Linked DNA regions of Homo sapiens: region 2 is linked to region 1. The links are contacts of gene promoters, found by promoter capture Hi-C in blood cells and fetal thymus (Javierre and others, 2016). All regions are on one chromosome and are shown on one strand. The core of a region is centred on a gene start or on the middle of the fragment in contact, and the rest is flanking DNA. Distances in the headings are between cores, read along the strand shown.

Evidence for each region. The method cuts DNA at HindIII sites, captures the fragments that hold promoters and counts their contacts. A CHiCAGO score of 5 or more calls a contact.
Region 2: the fragment with the promoter of LRIF1 here is called in contact with the fragment with the promoter of LAMTOR5 in region 1 in 1 of 17 cell types (total CD8 T cells); the score reaches 5.7 in total CD8 T cells.

The regions. Positions count from the first base shown.
Region 1 is chr1:110,404,978-110,412,422 of GRCh38, forward strand. LAMTOR5 (late endosomal/lysosomal adaptor, MAPK and MTOR activator 5) reads right to left here and starts at 2,717. Exons shown (of 4, transcript NM_001382293.1): 1 at 2,609-2,717; 2 at 1,341-1,402. The coding sequence starts at 2,643. LAMTOR5-AS1 (LAMTOR5 and SLC16A4 antisense RNA 1) reads left to right here and starts at 2,832. Exons shown (of 3, transcript NR_102697.1): 1 at 2,832-2,977; 2 at 7,196-7,316. RefSeq lists an enhancer at 2,659-2,888. The HindIII fragment of the contact is 8,453 bases long and covers 1-4,618 here.
Region 2 is chr1:110,960,505-110,967,949 of GRCh38, forward strand. It overlaps LRIF1 (ligand dependent nuclear receptor interacting factor 1), which reads right to left and starts at 3,418. Exons shown (of 4, transcript NM_018372.4): 1 at 3,117-3,418. The coding sequence starts at 3,184. RefSeq lists enhancers at 3,006-3,542, 3,077-3,286. The HindIII fragment of the contact is 2,635 bases long and covers 1,358-3,992 here.

The DNA of each region.
Region 1 (7,445 bases), core at 1,467-3,966:
ATGGAGGTTGCAGTGAGCCAAGATCGTGCCACTGCACTCTAGCCTGGGCGACAGAGCAAGATTTCGTCTCAAAAAAAAAAAAAAAAAAGTGATTAAGAGGCCTCAGGGCCAGACAAAAATCCTAGCTTAACGACTTACTAGCTGCATGACCTCAGGCAAGTTATTTAACCTCTGTGTCTCAGTTTCTTTTTTTATTTTTTGAGACAGAGTCTCGCTCTTGTCATCCAGGCTGGAGTGCAATGGTGCAATCTCGGCTTACTGCAACCTCTGCCTCCCAGGTTCAAGCGATTCTCCTGCCTCAGCCTCCCGAGTAGCTGGGATTACTAGCACCTGCTACCATGCCTGGCTAATTTTTTTTTGCATTTTTAGTAGAGATGTGGTTTCACCATGTTGGCCAGGCTAGTCTCGAACTCCTGACCTCAGGTGATCCACCCGCCTCCGCCTCCCAAAGTGCTGGGATCACAGGTGTGAGCCACCGCATCCGGCCTCTTTTTTTAAATTTTAAAAACATATATATATGTTTATTGTAAAAATAGAGATGGGGGGTCTCACTGTGTTGCACAGGCTGGTCTTGAACTCCTGGGCTCAAGTGATCTGCCCACCTTGGTCTCCCAAAGTGCTGGGATTACAGGCGTGAGACACTGCACCTGGTCCCTCAATTTCTTTTTCTACCTCACTGGGTTGTTATGAGGAATAAAAGAGTATATGTAAAGCACTTACAATGGTGCTTGGCACATAACAGCTCAATAAATATAATTCTATGATTATTACCATTATCAAATAACAACCCAGTGAAGAAAATGAGGGCCTAAAAGGTAGTTTTTTGGTCCACGTTCACACTACTAACAAATGAAAGAGCAAGGGATTGAGACCAGGTATGTCCAACACTGAAATCCCATTTTACTGCCTATTCACTTCTTGTTTAGTGTAGTTGAGCTTCAAAATTGTACACCACCCACCTTGCCGGGTTGTTGTGAAAATTAAAGATAATGTATTTAGAGCCTAGCAGTCTCAGCATATGGCATACATTCAATAAATGGTTAACAGCTGTTATTATCTGAAGTCCTTTCTAGACTCAATTTAAAATGATTCAAATATTATTTTTAGTAGAGACAACTATTTATTGTTATAGGACTGCAAGGAACATCTTCCTTCATAAATACCAACTGAAAAGTTTCAATTTTCTGATACTGTTATTTGGAGATAATCTCTACTCTCAAACTCAGAAAGACCTGGCAAGGTAACAGGAAATAAAAGCTAGAAAATAATAGCACGCTAGGCTCCAAGTCAACATCAGATGCTATGCAATTCATCAAATAGTTGGTATGAGAGATACTTACAACCCAGATTAAGTCCTTGTGAATCTGTGCACAGGACTCCAACAATGGAGGGATTCTTCATTCTAATTCCAGGAACACAAGAGAGTTGAAGTACATAATGGGAGAAAAAGGATTTAAATAAGTACAAACATACAGGTGTTCTATGTACCAGGCATTAAGTGCTTTAAATCAATATTTCTCAATCTTTTTTCATTGTCACACCCTAAGAAAAAAATTAAGTTCTAGGGCCGGGCGCGGTTGCTCACGCCTGTAATCCCAGCACTTTGGGAGGCCCAGGTGGGCGGATCACCTGAGGTCGGGAGTTCAAGACCAGCCTGACCAACATGGAGAAACCCCGTCTCTACTAAAAATACAAAATTAGCCAGGCGTGGTGGCGCATGACTGTAATCCCAGCTACTCGGGAGGCTGAGGCAAGAGAATCGCTTGAACCTGGGAGGCGGAGGTTGCAGTGAGCCGAGATCACGCCATTGCACTCCAGCCTGGAAGACGAGCGAAATTCCGTCTCAAAAAAAGAACACAAAAAATTTAAGTTCTAGTTAATTAATTGAAATAAACCAGTTTCTCTCTGATGAGAGAAAAAAATGTGCTAAGTACTGCTGAGTTCTGGAGGGCCACAAACACTGCGTGAAAAACATCTAGGATGTTTTCACTCTTGTTAAAAACGCATGTTTTAGTACTAACTCATTTAAAACAACTGTTGAAAAACTCAAGTTACCTCCTGGAGGGTAAGTGGAAGCTGAGGGACATCGGTGGGAGGCAGGTGTCTCTCTGTACCCTTTACACTTTTCCAGTTTTGAATTTTACATAGATACTGCTTGTTCGAAAAATTTAAAGAATGATTTTTATCTACTTAAGCACCAAGTAACTGATAGGTTACACACAGGAGATACGTGTTTGTTTACACTGCAGGGCTCGACACTGCACAACTGGCACAATCTTCCCAAAAGTCAACCCGTTTTCTAAAACTTCCGCAGAACCACCCTGACCGTAAAGACGATTTCAACAACGAGATAGGCAGTTTTGGCCCGTGGCCTGGGCCCGGGAGACTCGCTCAAGAGGGAATGTGCGGTGCCCGGCAGGATTTTAATTCCGGGTCACCCGCCCCGCCCTGCGGCCTTGGGTAGAGTTTAGCCCCCTCATCCCGTGTCCCGGGGGTCGCGCGACGTCCCCGAGACGCCCTGGCCGGTACTCGCAGCTCGCGCCTTTCGTTCCGCTCAAGTTCCTCCGCCGCGACCTCAGGACAGGCCGAAGAGGCGCGCACTACTCACGTGTCTTCCAAGTGCTGCTCCAAGGTCGCCTCCATCCCACCCACCGACCACTCCGGCTCAGAACCCAGCGGCACGGCACGTCCTTCTCCACCACAGGCCTCAGTCACTTGACGCGAGCGGGGCGTGGACCGTAACGGCGCCTCCAAAGGGACAAAATTGATCACGGTGCAACGTCCGCGTTCTTTACTGGAAAACATCACTGCGCTTCCGTCGCACAGAGCCTGACGAAGGCTTGGGCTCCCCGCGCGGTGACCGTCGAGGTGACCTGCACCTGGCTCCATGGCGGAACCGGCCGGCACGGATTATTCCCCTCTCGGGAGAGGTCTGCAGCCGGGCCTCAGTGCTTCAGTTCGTGGCCTGGCATTTTGTGTCAGTGTTTTTTAACCTTTGGACCCTAGTTCAACCGACTCCGAGACCTAGGGGACAGATCTTAAGTTTTACAATAACCCAGGGGTCAGACAGGGTCTGATCTAGCCTGTGGGGCAAGTACGGGGAAGACACGGGACCTCTTGGAGGGGGTCAGTAGGCTTGTAGGGGGAAAGACGCACACAGAGACTAAAGGACGAGATGGAGCAAGGTTCAACCCCCTAGCTGAGTGTTGGCAGTGTCGGGATTTTAACGAAGACATTGGTGCTTATTATGGTGAGGGGACTCAGGACAGTTTAGGGGAAGAGAGTGGCATTTGAGTCCTAACTCGTAAGGAAGACTGGGTAGGACTACTTGAAAATAACTTTTAAAAATTAATTATAAAGCTGGTAAAAATAGGAAAACATCTATGGCCCCACTGTCCAAAGACGACTTTTAACTTCTTGGAGAATATCCTTTCAGATAGTTGTCTTTGTAAATGTATACTTTTAATGTTTTTTCGTTTGCCTTTTTAAAATAAATTTTTTGGGGGACAGGGTCTTGCTCTGTTACCCAGGCTGTAGTGCAGTAGAACGATTATAGCTCATTGCAACCCGGACGTCCTGGGTTCAAGCTATCCTCACCTCTCAGCCTCTCGACTGGCTAGGACCACAGCCTCGAGCCATCATGTCTGGCTAATTTTTACGTTTTTTTGTAGAGATGGGGGTCTCGCTGTGTTGTCCAGGCTGGTCTTAAACTCCTTGCTTCAACAGATCCTCCCACTCCAGCCTCCCAAAATGTGATTACAGGCTGAGTCACCACGCCTAGCATGGTTTTTTTTGTTTTGTTTGTTTTGTAAGCAAAATTGACATACATACTGGAGGTACAATTCTGTAGCTGGCCTTCTTTACAGAGTTTAGAATAAATGTCTTTCCATGTCAAGTTTTCACTTACATCCTTTGTAGTAGTTGCAAAATATTCCATTTTATAGCTGTATCTTAATTGTGGATTAAGGTTGGAGTGCAGTGGCACTATCATGGCTTAGTCCAGCCTCAGCCTTCTAGGTTCAAGCGATCTTCCCACCTCAGCCTCCCAAGAAGCTGGGACTACAGGGACCCGCCACCCCACCTAGCTAATTAAAAAAAAAATTGTAGAGATGGAGTCTCAGTGTGTAGCCCAGTCTCAAGTGACCCTCCCTCGTTGGCTTCCCAAAGCGCTGAGATTGCAGGTGAGCCACTGTACTTGGACTTTTTTTTTTTTTTTTGCTTTTGTTTGTTTTTTGTTTTAGCTATTACAATGCTGGTTGAATATCCTCATAGCTAAATATCTGTGCAGTTTTAAAATTTCCTTATAAGTTACTAGAAATGGAATGACTGGGTTAAAGGACATGATCATTTTTTAAGACTCTTGATACATACTTACAAATTGCCTCCCGAAAAAGTGGTGCTAATTTACTCAAATTGGTAAGCCTCACCCCCTCTGTGGATCATTCCTTGCACTAAGTTTCTTCCAACTCTGTCACCTCCAGCTTTTTACTCACAGCCTACCTTCCAATCTGGGGCCCAGCTCCCAGATCGGAAGATACCAGACTTTGGTATTGAACCAAAGTCCAATACACTGCACTGGCATTCAGAGTCCCTTTTTATTCCGCAGCTGTCATAGTGAAGCTTGCAGCTTCCTTGAAATTCCAGTTTGTTTATTTCTTTATTTTTTTGAGACAGAGTCTTGCTCTATCGCCCAGGCTGGAGTGCAGTGGCGCCGTCTCAGCTCACTGCAACCTCTGCCTCCTGGTTCAAGCGATTCTTCTGCCTCAGCCTCCCGAGTAGCTGGGATTACAGGCATGCACCACCACACGTGGCTAATTTTTGTGCTTTTAGTAGAGATGGGGTTTCACCATGTTGGCCAGGCTGGTCTCAAACTCCTGACCTCAAGCGATCCGCCCACCTCAGCCTCCCAAAGTGCTGGGATTATAGGCATGAGCCATTGCACCCAGCCAAAATTCCAGTTTGAATGTTATAATTCAGGGGTCTTGGACTCCTGCTCTAGAGAAATTATTCATGTTAAGTTAGGGGTAACACAGTACAGGCCATATAAGTTTTAGAAAAAGCAGTTTAAAACTTAGCATTAGAAAACATAAGTACTGCCTGGTGAAATGGCACGTGCCTATAATCCCAGCTACTCAGGAGGCTGAGGCAGGAGGATCCCTTGAGCCCAGGAGTTCAAGTCCAGCCTGGGCAATATAGTCTAGTGGCCACATTAAAAAAAGTAAAACAGCCGGGCGCGGTGGCTCACGCCTGTAATCCCAGCACTTTGGGAGGCCGAGGCGGGTGGATCACGAGGTCAGGAGATTGAGACCATCCTGGCTAACACGGTGAAACCCTGTCTCCACTAAAAATACAAAAAATTCTCCGGGTGTGGTGGTGGGCGCCTGTGGTCCCAGCTACTCAGGAGGCTGAGGCAGGAGAATGGTGTGAGCCTGGGAGGCGGAGCTTGCAGTGAGCCGAGATCGCGCCACTGCACTCCAGCCTGGGCGACAGAGCGAGACTCTGTCTCAAAAAAAAAAAAAAAAAAAAAAAAAAAGTAAAACAGGGCAGGGTGCAGTGGCTCACGCCTGTAATCCTAGCACTTTGGGAGGCCGAGATGGGTGGATCAGTTGAGGTCAGGAGTTTGAGACCAGCCTGGCCAACATGGCGAAACCCCATCTCTACTAAAAATACAAAAATTAGCTGGGTGTGATGGTGCGTGCCTGTAGTCCCAGCTACTCAGGAGGCTGAGGCAGGAGGATCGTTTGAACTCGGGAGCTGGAGGTTGCAGTGAGCCGAGATTGAGCCACAGCACTCCAGGCTGTGCTACAGTGTGAGACTGTCTCAAAAAAAAGTAAAACAGATGAAACTAATTTTAATAACATTTTATTTATTCAAACAATATATTCAAAATATTATTTCAACTTGTGATTGATAAAATACTAATGAGATATTTTATATTTTTTCTCCAGTACTGTCTTCAAAATCCAGGGTATATTTTTCAGTTAGCAGCACATTTCAATTCAGACCAGCCGCATTTCAAGTGCTCAGCAGCCACCTGTGGCTAGTGGCCACAGTATTGGCCAGTGTAGCCCAAGGATATCTCAAATTATCTCAAAGCTAGATCAGTGATTAAAGGATTCTCAGGCCAGGCATGGTAGTTTTCAGGCCTGGTATGGTGGTTTACGCCTGTAATCCCCGCACTTTGGGAGGCCTAGGTGGGCGGATGGCTTGAGCCCAGGAGTTTGAGACCAGCCTAGCCAACGTGGGGAGACCCTGTCTCTACCAAAGCACAAAAATTAGCTGGGCATGGTGATGCGCACCTGTGGTCTCAAGTACTTTGTGTGAGGTGGGAGGATCACTTGAGCCCGGGAGGTTGAGGCTGCAGTGAGCTGAGATTGCACAACTGCACTCCAGCCTGGGTGACAGAATGAGACCCTGTCTCAAAAAAAAAAAAGGATTCTCCGAAAGACTGGCGATTGCTTTTTAAGCTATAAGGAAGGCCTTTGAAGGGAAATCAAGTAGGAAGAGGATGATAGCTGGCTCACATGTCCTTGCCACATGGGAGGTGAGAGAGCAGGCTACTCCTTACCACCCCCGCTTTCTCTGCCCTGCTGCTGTCTTGCCCCTGTGCAAGTAGGCAATGGGAGAGGAATAGTATATATAAATTGGGCAAGTGCTAGGGGCTGGAGTGATGGTTGGGGAAAGTATCTGACCCTTGTTTTCTACTTTCTTTAGCTTGTGGGGTATTTAACAATTCTTTGTTCTTAGTTTTGAGTGCTGGCAACCATTTCTGGGGTGACAGGAAAAGTTCCATGACATCCGTATTAGAGCATTTGTTTCATTATATTGTAATTTTTTATGTTTACTTTTGAAAAAGTTCATTCTTTTCTCTTTTTAATTCTTATTCTTTTTTTTTTCTTTTCTTTTTGAGGCAGGGTTTTACTCTATCACCCAGGCTGGAGTGCAGTGGCACAATCTTGGCTCACTGCAACCTCTGCCTCCTGAGCTCGTGATTCATCCTCCTGAGTAGCTGGGACTACAGGTGTACACTACCATGTGTAGCTAAATTTTTTGTATTTTTTGTAGAGATGGGGTTTTGCCATGTTGCCAGGCTGGTCTCGAACTCCTGCAATTTGCTCTCCTTGGCCTCACGAAATGCTGGGATTACAGGCATAAGCTACAGCACCCAGCCCTTACGTTTACTTTTCATTGACAGGAAGAGTGTCTTCATCTCTGCATCCCTAGTGCAACAGAGCATGACAAAAATTCAACAAATATTTATTGAAGAGTCTTGATGTCTTTTGGGAAAGGAACTCTATGGTTACCTTTACTCTAAGGTAAAGAAATTTAGGTCCTGAACTTTAACCACCTTCTCCTCTTCTTTCTTCCCTCTTTCATAAATGAGCTCTTGGAAAATTAAAATGCCAGGAGGGTCCAGCAGAGAATACCCAAGCCCACATGTCCTG
Region 2 (7,445 bases), core at 2,168-4,667, 560 kb after region 1:
CCAATCACATGATGTCTTAATTCTTATTATTGTAGGATATATAATCACAGGCTTTCATTATAGTACCTCTAAGGTGATGCTTCCCAAATCTCTAGTCTCAGCTCTGACTCAGCCTGAGTTTCATATTCAAATATCTGACTGCTTTCTTGATGTGTTCCTCATCTCAGTTAATTTACCAATATCCACCCAGAAAACTGGCATCATAATTGATCCCCCTTTCTTCCTGCCAATTCATTAACGAAGTCGGTCTATTTTCCCTTCTATATTTCTTTGAATCCAACCCCTACTGTACTGTACCAGCTAGTTCAGGCCCTCAGAATTTCTGAAAAGACAACTGAAATAGGATCCTTATATGTAGATCACTCACCCTCAAATCCAGACTGCCAACGTTATCTAAAATGTACACCTGTGTCAGTCTTTTTCTTAAAATACTCTGACCTATTTCCAATAGATGAAGTCTAATCTCCTTAGCAGGGCAAACAGAACCCTTAAGAGCTATCTATCTATCCTACTTGTACAGAATCAAGCAACAAGTATCAATCATAAACCATACACGTCCTTTATTTACCAGTTCTCTGCATAAGCATATCCTGCTTTTATCTTTAACTGGATAGCTGATACTTATGTTTCCCAACTCAGCTGTTCTTGGAATCTTTCTTCCAACTCCCTTTCTCTACTCTCTTCCTTTACTACATCAACTCTACTTTCCTCCTCCTCCACCATGACTGTAAGGTTTTCCCTGGCAACAGCCCATATCCTATTATTAATCAGTCTTCCCATTTAGCACAGTCTATCACATAGATAGTAGGCACTAAATGAATGTTTTTTCATCAAATGTTTAAACTGTATTGATAGTAAGTGGTAAGCTAGGATATGAACCCAAGTCTCTATGACTTAAAAGGTTCTTTCCACTATAGCGTTCTGACTCCTGCTTTATTCTTCGACAATAAAACCCAAATCAATATAAATTAAATGCATACCATCACAAATATCTTCCAGATTTTTCCTTTGTACTCTAAGATTAAATTTGGGTTTTACATGTGATGTTCTGATGAATTAAGAGATACTTCAAACAATATACAACAATATACAATTCTGTATTATGCTACTGAAAAATTTTAAATAAGCAGTAACAGGAAATATTTAAGCTACAAACAATAAGAAAATCATAGTCATTTAAGTTATAAAAATAAATGATTTAGTACCATCAAACATGTTACCAGAAAAATAAGAAAACTAAGTTTCCAATAAACTACAAGGGCCGTTAATATTATTTACAAAATTATATTTGGATGTTTTATTACTTACAGAACAGAATGGAATCAAATACGCAACCATTAACCAAAGTAAATGTCGAAGCTTCAGAAAGTCATCTGGTAAATGTCCCAAATATATGATGTAAAACCTCAATGATTTAAATAAATACATTCAAAAATAATAAAAACAATGCATAAATCAATGAGTTAATGAACTCAAAATGACTTATGAATGTAATTTGTAATTTAAAAATCTCCAAATCCCCAAAAGGATTAGAAACTGGATAACAGAGTTAAGGGTACACACACACACACACACACACACACACACACACAAAGTAAAGTTGTTTATCTTACTTTTTGTATTTAAAAATGCAATCCTAAAACAAATTTTCTATAAATTAAGCTAAGTCAGAAGTCAGTAAGTATTCAGGTACTAAAATAAGGCTGCAGAAATTAATCATTTAAAAAGTAATTCTACTTTCTCATATGTACACAGGGCACTCTCTGCCCCTTCCCCCAAACTTCCACCACAAAATTAAAAAAAAGAAAAAAGAAAAAAACACACAAGTACACCAAAAAATGGCTCTTTTTATGATTTGAAATACAATGGTTCTATCTTGACAGTTCAACAGAATTTTGGCTCATTACTATTAGTGACCATTTCCTTTTATAATATTGCTTTTAAGGACTCACCATTACTTACGGTCTTTATTGCAATGGAGTTTTCTACTTGCAATTAAAGAAAACTACCTGCTGGGCTAAAATCTGTACAGAATTAAAGTTGTATGCTTATAATAGTAATAGTTAACATTTAAATTGTGCTTTACTATTTTCCTACACGACGTATTTTACATTATTTCATTCTCCTAATCTTTAAAATATTTCTAAGTGCTATTATTTACAGACTGGAAACAGGTACCTGGCCTCACAAATGCTAACTAGCAAAGTTGAGATTAACCCCAGGTAGCTTGATTTTCTTCAAACGAAAATCCTCTTCCATGAGTTTTGCATCTTAGTTCTTCATTTTCTTATTAGAGTCTGCAGACCCTATTTTTTCCTCATCACTTAATCTACTAACCATGTGAGAGTACAAGTGAAAATATTCTGCTTTAGCTAACATTGTTTCCAATTCATTTCCTTGTAATACAATTTAAAAAAAAAAACCCAAAAACTAAGTTACTGATCATCTATTTTCTAACTTTACAAGAATATCTTCCTTAGAAATACTGGACTCTCCTCATGCCAAATATAAATAGCCAATGAAATGGCACTTCATTACACCCTACTTCAAAAAGGCTGTTCAAAAGGACTGACTTTACACGAGGATTTCTCCAGTCTTACTTCTCTCTCTTCACATAAAACTATTACTTGAAATTTTAAATATTCGATCTCCTCATTCTAAAGCCCTTTTTCTTCAATCACACACCCTTTCTGTCTCACTATTAAAATCTATTTTCACTGAAGGTCCAGCGCCACCAGGGCTGCACTTGCTAATCCGTGCTGACTGCTGCGTTTCTGCGTGTGCGTGAGAATCTTCCAGAAGGTTTGAGTCACATAAGAGCGTCGGCCATCTTGGTTTTCATCTCCCGTGGAGATCTACTCGGTCCGCCTATTAAACTTGAGACGCTGGGGTCCCGCGGAGCCGCTGTGTCAGGCTCTAAAGAGGTTTTACATTTCCCAGAGGAAAGCGCTCTATGGGCTTTAAGCGCCGCGGAGACAAGCGCTTCCCGCCTGGGTGGCGCACTCTGCGGGCTCCAACTCCTCTCAACTACACAGCGTCCGGAAACGACGGCCGACTCCACATCCCTAAGACGGACAGAGGGGCAGCCGTGGGGAGGATTCGAAACCGGTACTTACCAACGCGAGGCGTTGCCTGAATTTTCCTCTGCGGGTTTCAGGAAGACCCTCCGTAGGTTATTTGACATTTTAGTGGGGAGAAAGGGGACACCTCATCCAGAAAAGTGGGAAGCGTGGGGCCGAGTTTCCCAATGGGGCGAGAACCAGAGCGAGGGAATGTTGGGCTGGAGTTGCCCACAGCAACTGTGAGGGGTTCGACCTTAACGGAGGGCGACAGCGGGCTCTCGAGAGGGTGTATCCCCAGGCTTCGGGACGAGGTCGCGCACCGCGCAGAAACCGGAAGGCTCCTGGCGGTGGACTGCGCCCTCACAGCCCTACGCTGAGAGAGAATCGGCGTGAGTCTCCGCCCTCAGAGCCTACGACAACTCTCCAGACTCCGCCGGAGCAGGCGCAGGGGGCGTGGCCTTGGTGGCACCACCCCCAACAGAGCCTGGTCAGTGCTGAAGACTGCGTCAGTCTGGCTCTGCCGCCCCGCCCACTGAAGCCGATAGCTGGAGCAAAGCTCGGTCGGGCGTCTTCCGGGGTCGTCACGTCCGGTTGCCAAGGTGACTGGCTCGCTAAAGCCCAACCCTTATGATGCAATCCAATGGCAAGTGATATTTGCTATCTTTTCTTCCGGATCAAGGAACAAATCGCAAAAGAAAGCTCTCCCGACACCTACGCAAAATAAAATGTTTCCGGGGTCAATCATAAATTTTCTGCTTCTGTGCTCGCCGCTAGCGTACGTTTTTCTCTCCCGTCAGTGCATTAAAAGACATCGGCGCGCTTTTTTGGAGTCATGCACTTCTGGCCTGAGAAAACTTAAAACGCCTGCCTGTGGCCAGCGATTATTGTTGCTGCTTCTCTGAAGGTTTCCCATTTACTCCTCTTTCCTGAAGCTTTGCCTCTAGACTTACTTAACTCTTTCCTCCAGCCTACGTTCATCGAAACTATCACTTATTGTCATATAGACCTTTATTTCTGAAGGGAGATCTGGGAGTTGCATCAGAACATCCATTGTATTCATTAAATCATTTATTCAGCTGTCCATTGCAGTTGATGCTCTTTATCTCACACTATTTGAGAATTTTTCCTCGCAGCACTATTAATTAGTCCCTCATCTTGACGCCATTGGCAATATACTTTCCTGGTTTTGCTCCTACCTTTTTGTCTACACCTTCTCAATCTCTTTTGAAGATATCTCCCTTTTCAAGGGAGTTCCTTTCAGCTTGATCACTGATTCTCTTATGTTTTCAAACTGTCTTGTCTCGATTCGTGGTTTTATTCATGCTCCTGGATTGAATTACCACCTCCACCCATTATTTTACCACCAAACACATGTATGTCCTTGGCACTGATTTAAGTGTTTTACAAAATTAATTTACTCCTAACAGCTAATAAAATAATTATTATATGCAGATGAAGTAACTGATGCTCAGAGAGGGTGAACAAATTTTTAGAGGTCATAGAGCTTGTGAGTGATGGAGCCAGGCTCCAAATCCAGGTTGTCTGGCTAAACACACCATGTACTACTGCATTATGCTGCCGTGTGACTCATAAATTTATGTTCCCAGTTCTGATTTCTCTGAGATCTATACCTGGATGTTCAAGTGAATTGTTGAGATATCCTTTTTGCTATTTTAAAAGCCCCTTCAAATGAAACATGTTCAAAACCACACTTATGACTTGCTTCTCTTCCCCCCACTACACGTTTTCTTTTATCAGTGCTATCTCAGAAAGAAAGAAAGAAATAACTTCCTTCCATTAAAGTTGCCTAAATCCCAGTGTCATCCTTAACACTTTCCTTTTTTTATTCCAAAATATACAATTCACCAACTTTTGCAGATTTTATCTTCTAAATATCTTACAAGTCTGCTTTATATTTCTATTACTACTACTGTAGAGCAAGCTTACTTGGTCTAGTAAAGCTTTAACGGATACCCTCATATCCACTCCTTTTTTATTTATTTATTTTTTTAGAGGGAGTCTCACTCTGTCACCCAGGCTGGAGTGCAGTGGGCAATCTCAGCTCACTGCAAGCTCCGCCTCCTGGGTTCACGCCATTCTCCTGCCTCAGCCTCCTGAGTAGCTGGGACTACAGGCGCCCGCCACCACACCCAGCTAATTTTTTGTATTTTAATTAGAGATGGGGTTTCACTGTGTTAGCCAGGATGGACTCGATCTCCTGACCTCCTGATCTCCCCGCCTCAGCCTCCCAAAGTGATGGGATTACAGGCGTGAGCCTCATATCCACTCTTGTATTCCTGTAAATGCTGCAGCCAGAGATACCATATGGAAACACAAATCTGATGGTGTCATCTCACTGCATTAAAAAAAAAAATCAGTTTCCCCATTGCTCTTATGATAAGGATCAAAATCCTTGATTCTTTTCCTTTTTTTCTTTTTCTTTTTTCTTTTCTTTTTTTCTTTTTCTTTTTTAGACAGGGTCTCACTCTGTCACCCCAGACTGGAGTACAGTGGCGTGATTTCAGCTCACTGCAATCTCCATCTCCTGGATTCAAGCGATTCTCGTGCCTCAGTCTCCCGAGTAGCTGGGATTACAGGTGCGCACTACCACGCCTGGCTCATTTTTTGTATTTTTAATAGAGACAGGGTTTCACCATGTTGGCTAGGCTGGTGTCTAACTCCTGACCGCAAATGATCTGTCTGCCTTGGCCTCCAAACGTGCTGGGATTACAGGCATGAGCTACTGTGCCCAGCCAAAATCCTTGATTCTAATCAAGATGTTGAACTAGTACAGACGGCTGACACCTGGAGAAATAAAAAAAAAAAAAGGAAGTTTAGATTTTTAGGAATTAACAGCAACAACCACCACACACACACACACACACACACACACACACACACACACACAAAAAGCAGCTGTGAAAATTTCGATCTGTAGGACATTTTCAGAACTGGTATGTGAGTGTATAGAGTGTTACAGGCTAAAGCCAAGGGCCACCACGAGAAGCAGAGGGTGGAGGCAACTATTTGAATTTTTCTCTTGTAACAGATATGATCATTAATTGTCCTTTGAAAATAAACCTGTAGCAATAGCCAAGCCCCTGGTATGGACAGGATAAAGTCAAGGCAGGAAAAACCCATGCTAAGGTAAGGCACTGATGAAAACAGATGCAGGATTACCTGCCAGTGTTGGGAAGTCACTACTCCATCCTTTCCGCAAAACCACCCTGGCTGGTATATTATAAATAGGTAACTTGACTTTTATCAGTGTGGTCTTGCACTACAATTTAAATATAACTCTTACCATGGAAATTGCCTTTTGGAGTGGAAGCTAATTGGTATGATCAGCAGTGCTTCTTTGAATTCCTTAGGACATACACTTTTCTTCTAAATTCATTGGGAAATGCAGACTGAGGCTTAAATATCTTTTTGTTGTTGTTGTTGTTGAGACAGAGTCTCGCTCTGTTGCCCAGGCTGGAGTGCAGTGGCACGATCTTGGTTCACTGCAACCTCCGCCTTTCAGGTTCAAGTGATTCTCCTGCCTCAGCCTCCTGAGTAGCTGGGACTACAGGCACGCATCACCTTGCAATTCAGTTAATAAAGACTAGTTTAAAGACATATTTAGAAATGAAATGACTGTTACTAAATTAGCATTACAAAAACAGATCAAAAATGTTAAATGTACAATCAAGTTACATGGAAAATTAAAGTAATAGAAAACTACAGTAGACCCTGCTTATTCAGTTTTACCTTCTGTAGTTTCAGTTACCCATGGTCAACCATGGTTCAAAAATATTACATGGAAAATTGCAGAAATTACCAATTCACAAGTATGAAATTGTGTGCCATTCTGGGTAGCATGATGAAATCTTGAGCTGTCCTTTTTTGCCCCACCAGGGTGTGAATCATCCCTTTCTCTAGCATATCCCCACCTGTTAGTCACTTAGGCGCCATCTTGGTTTTCAGATCCACTGTCATGGTATCACAATGTTTATGTTCAAGTAACCCTTATTTACTTAAAAATGGCCCAAAGTACAGGAGTAGTGATGCTAGCATGTTGTTCTATTTTTATTATTAGTTGTGATTAATCTCTTACTATGCTTAACTTATAAATTAAACTTTATTATAGGTATGTATGTATAAGAAAAAAAAATGTAGCCCGTATCCAGTCTGGTACTATTCATGGTTTTAAGCATTCACTGGGAGTATTGAAACATATCTCCCACAGATATACTACAGTATATCAGTGAAAATCAGAAAAAAATGAACATATTTGGGGGATGAGAGTGAAGCCAAATATGAACTAAAATAAACACACTAGATGAGATAAATAGTTGAATGCATGCAGCTGAATAAAGAATTAGGAGACTGATAGAAGAGAGT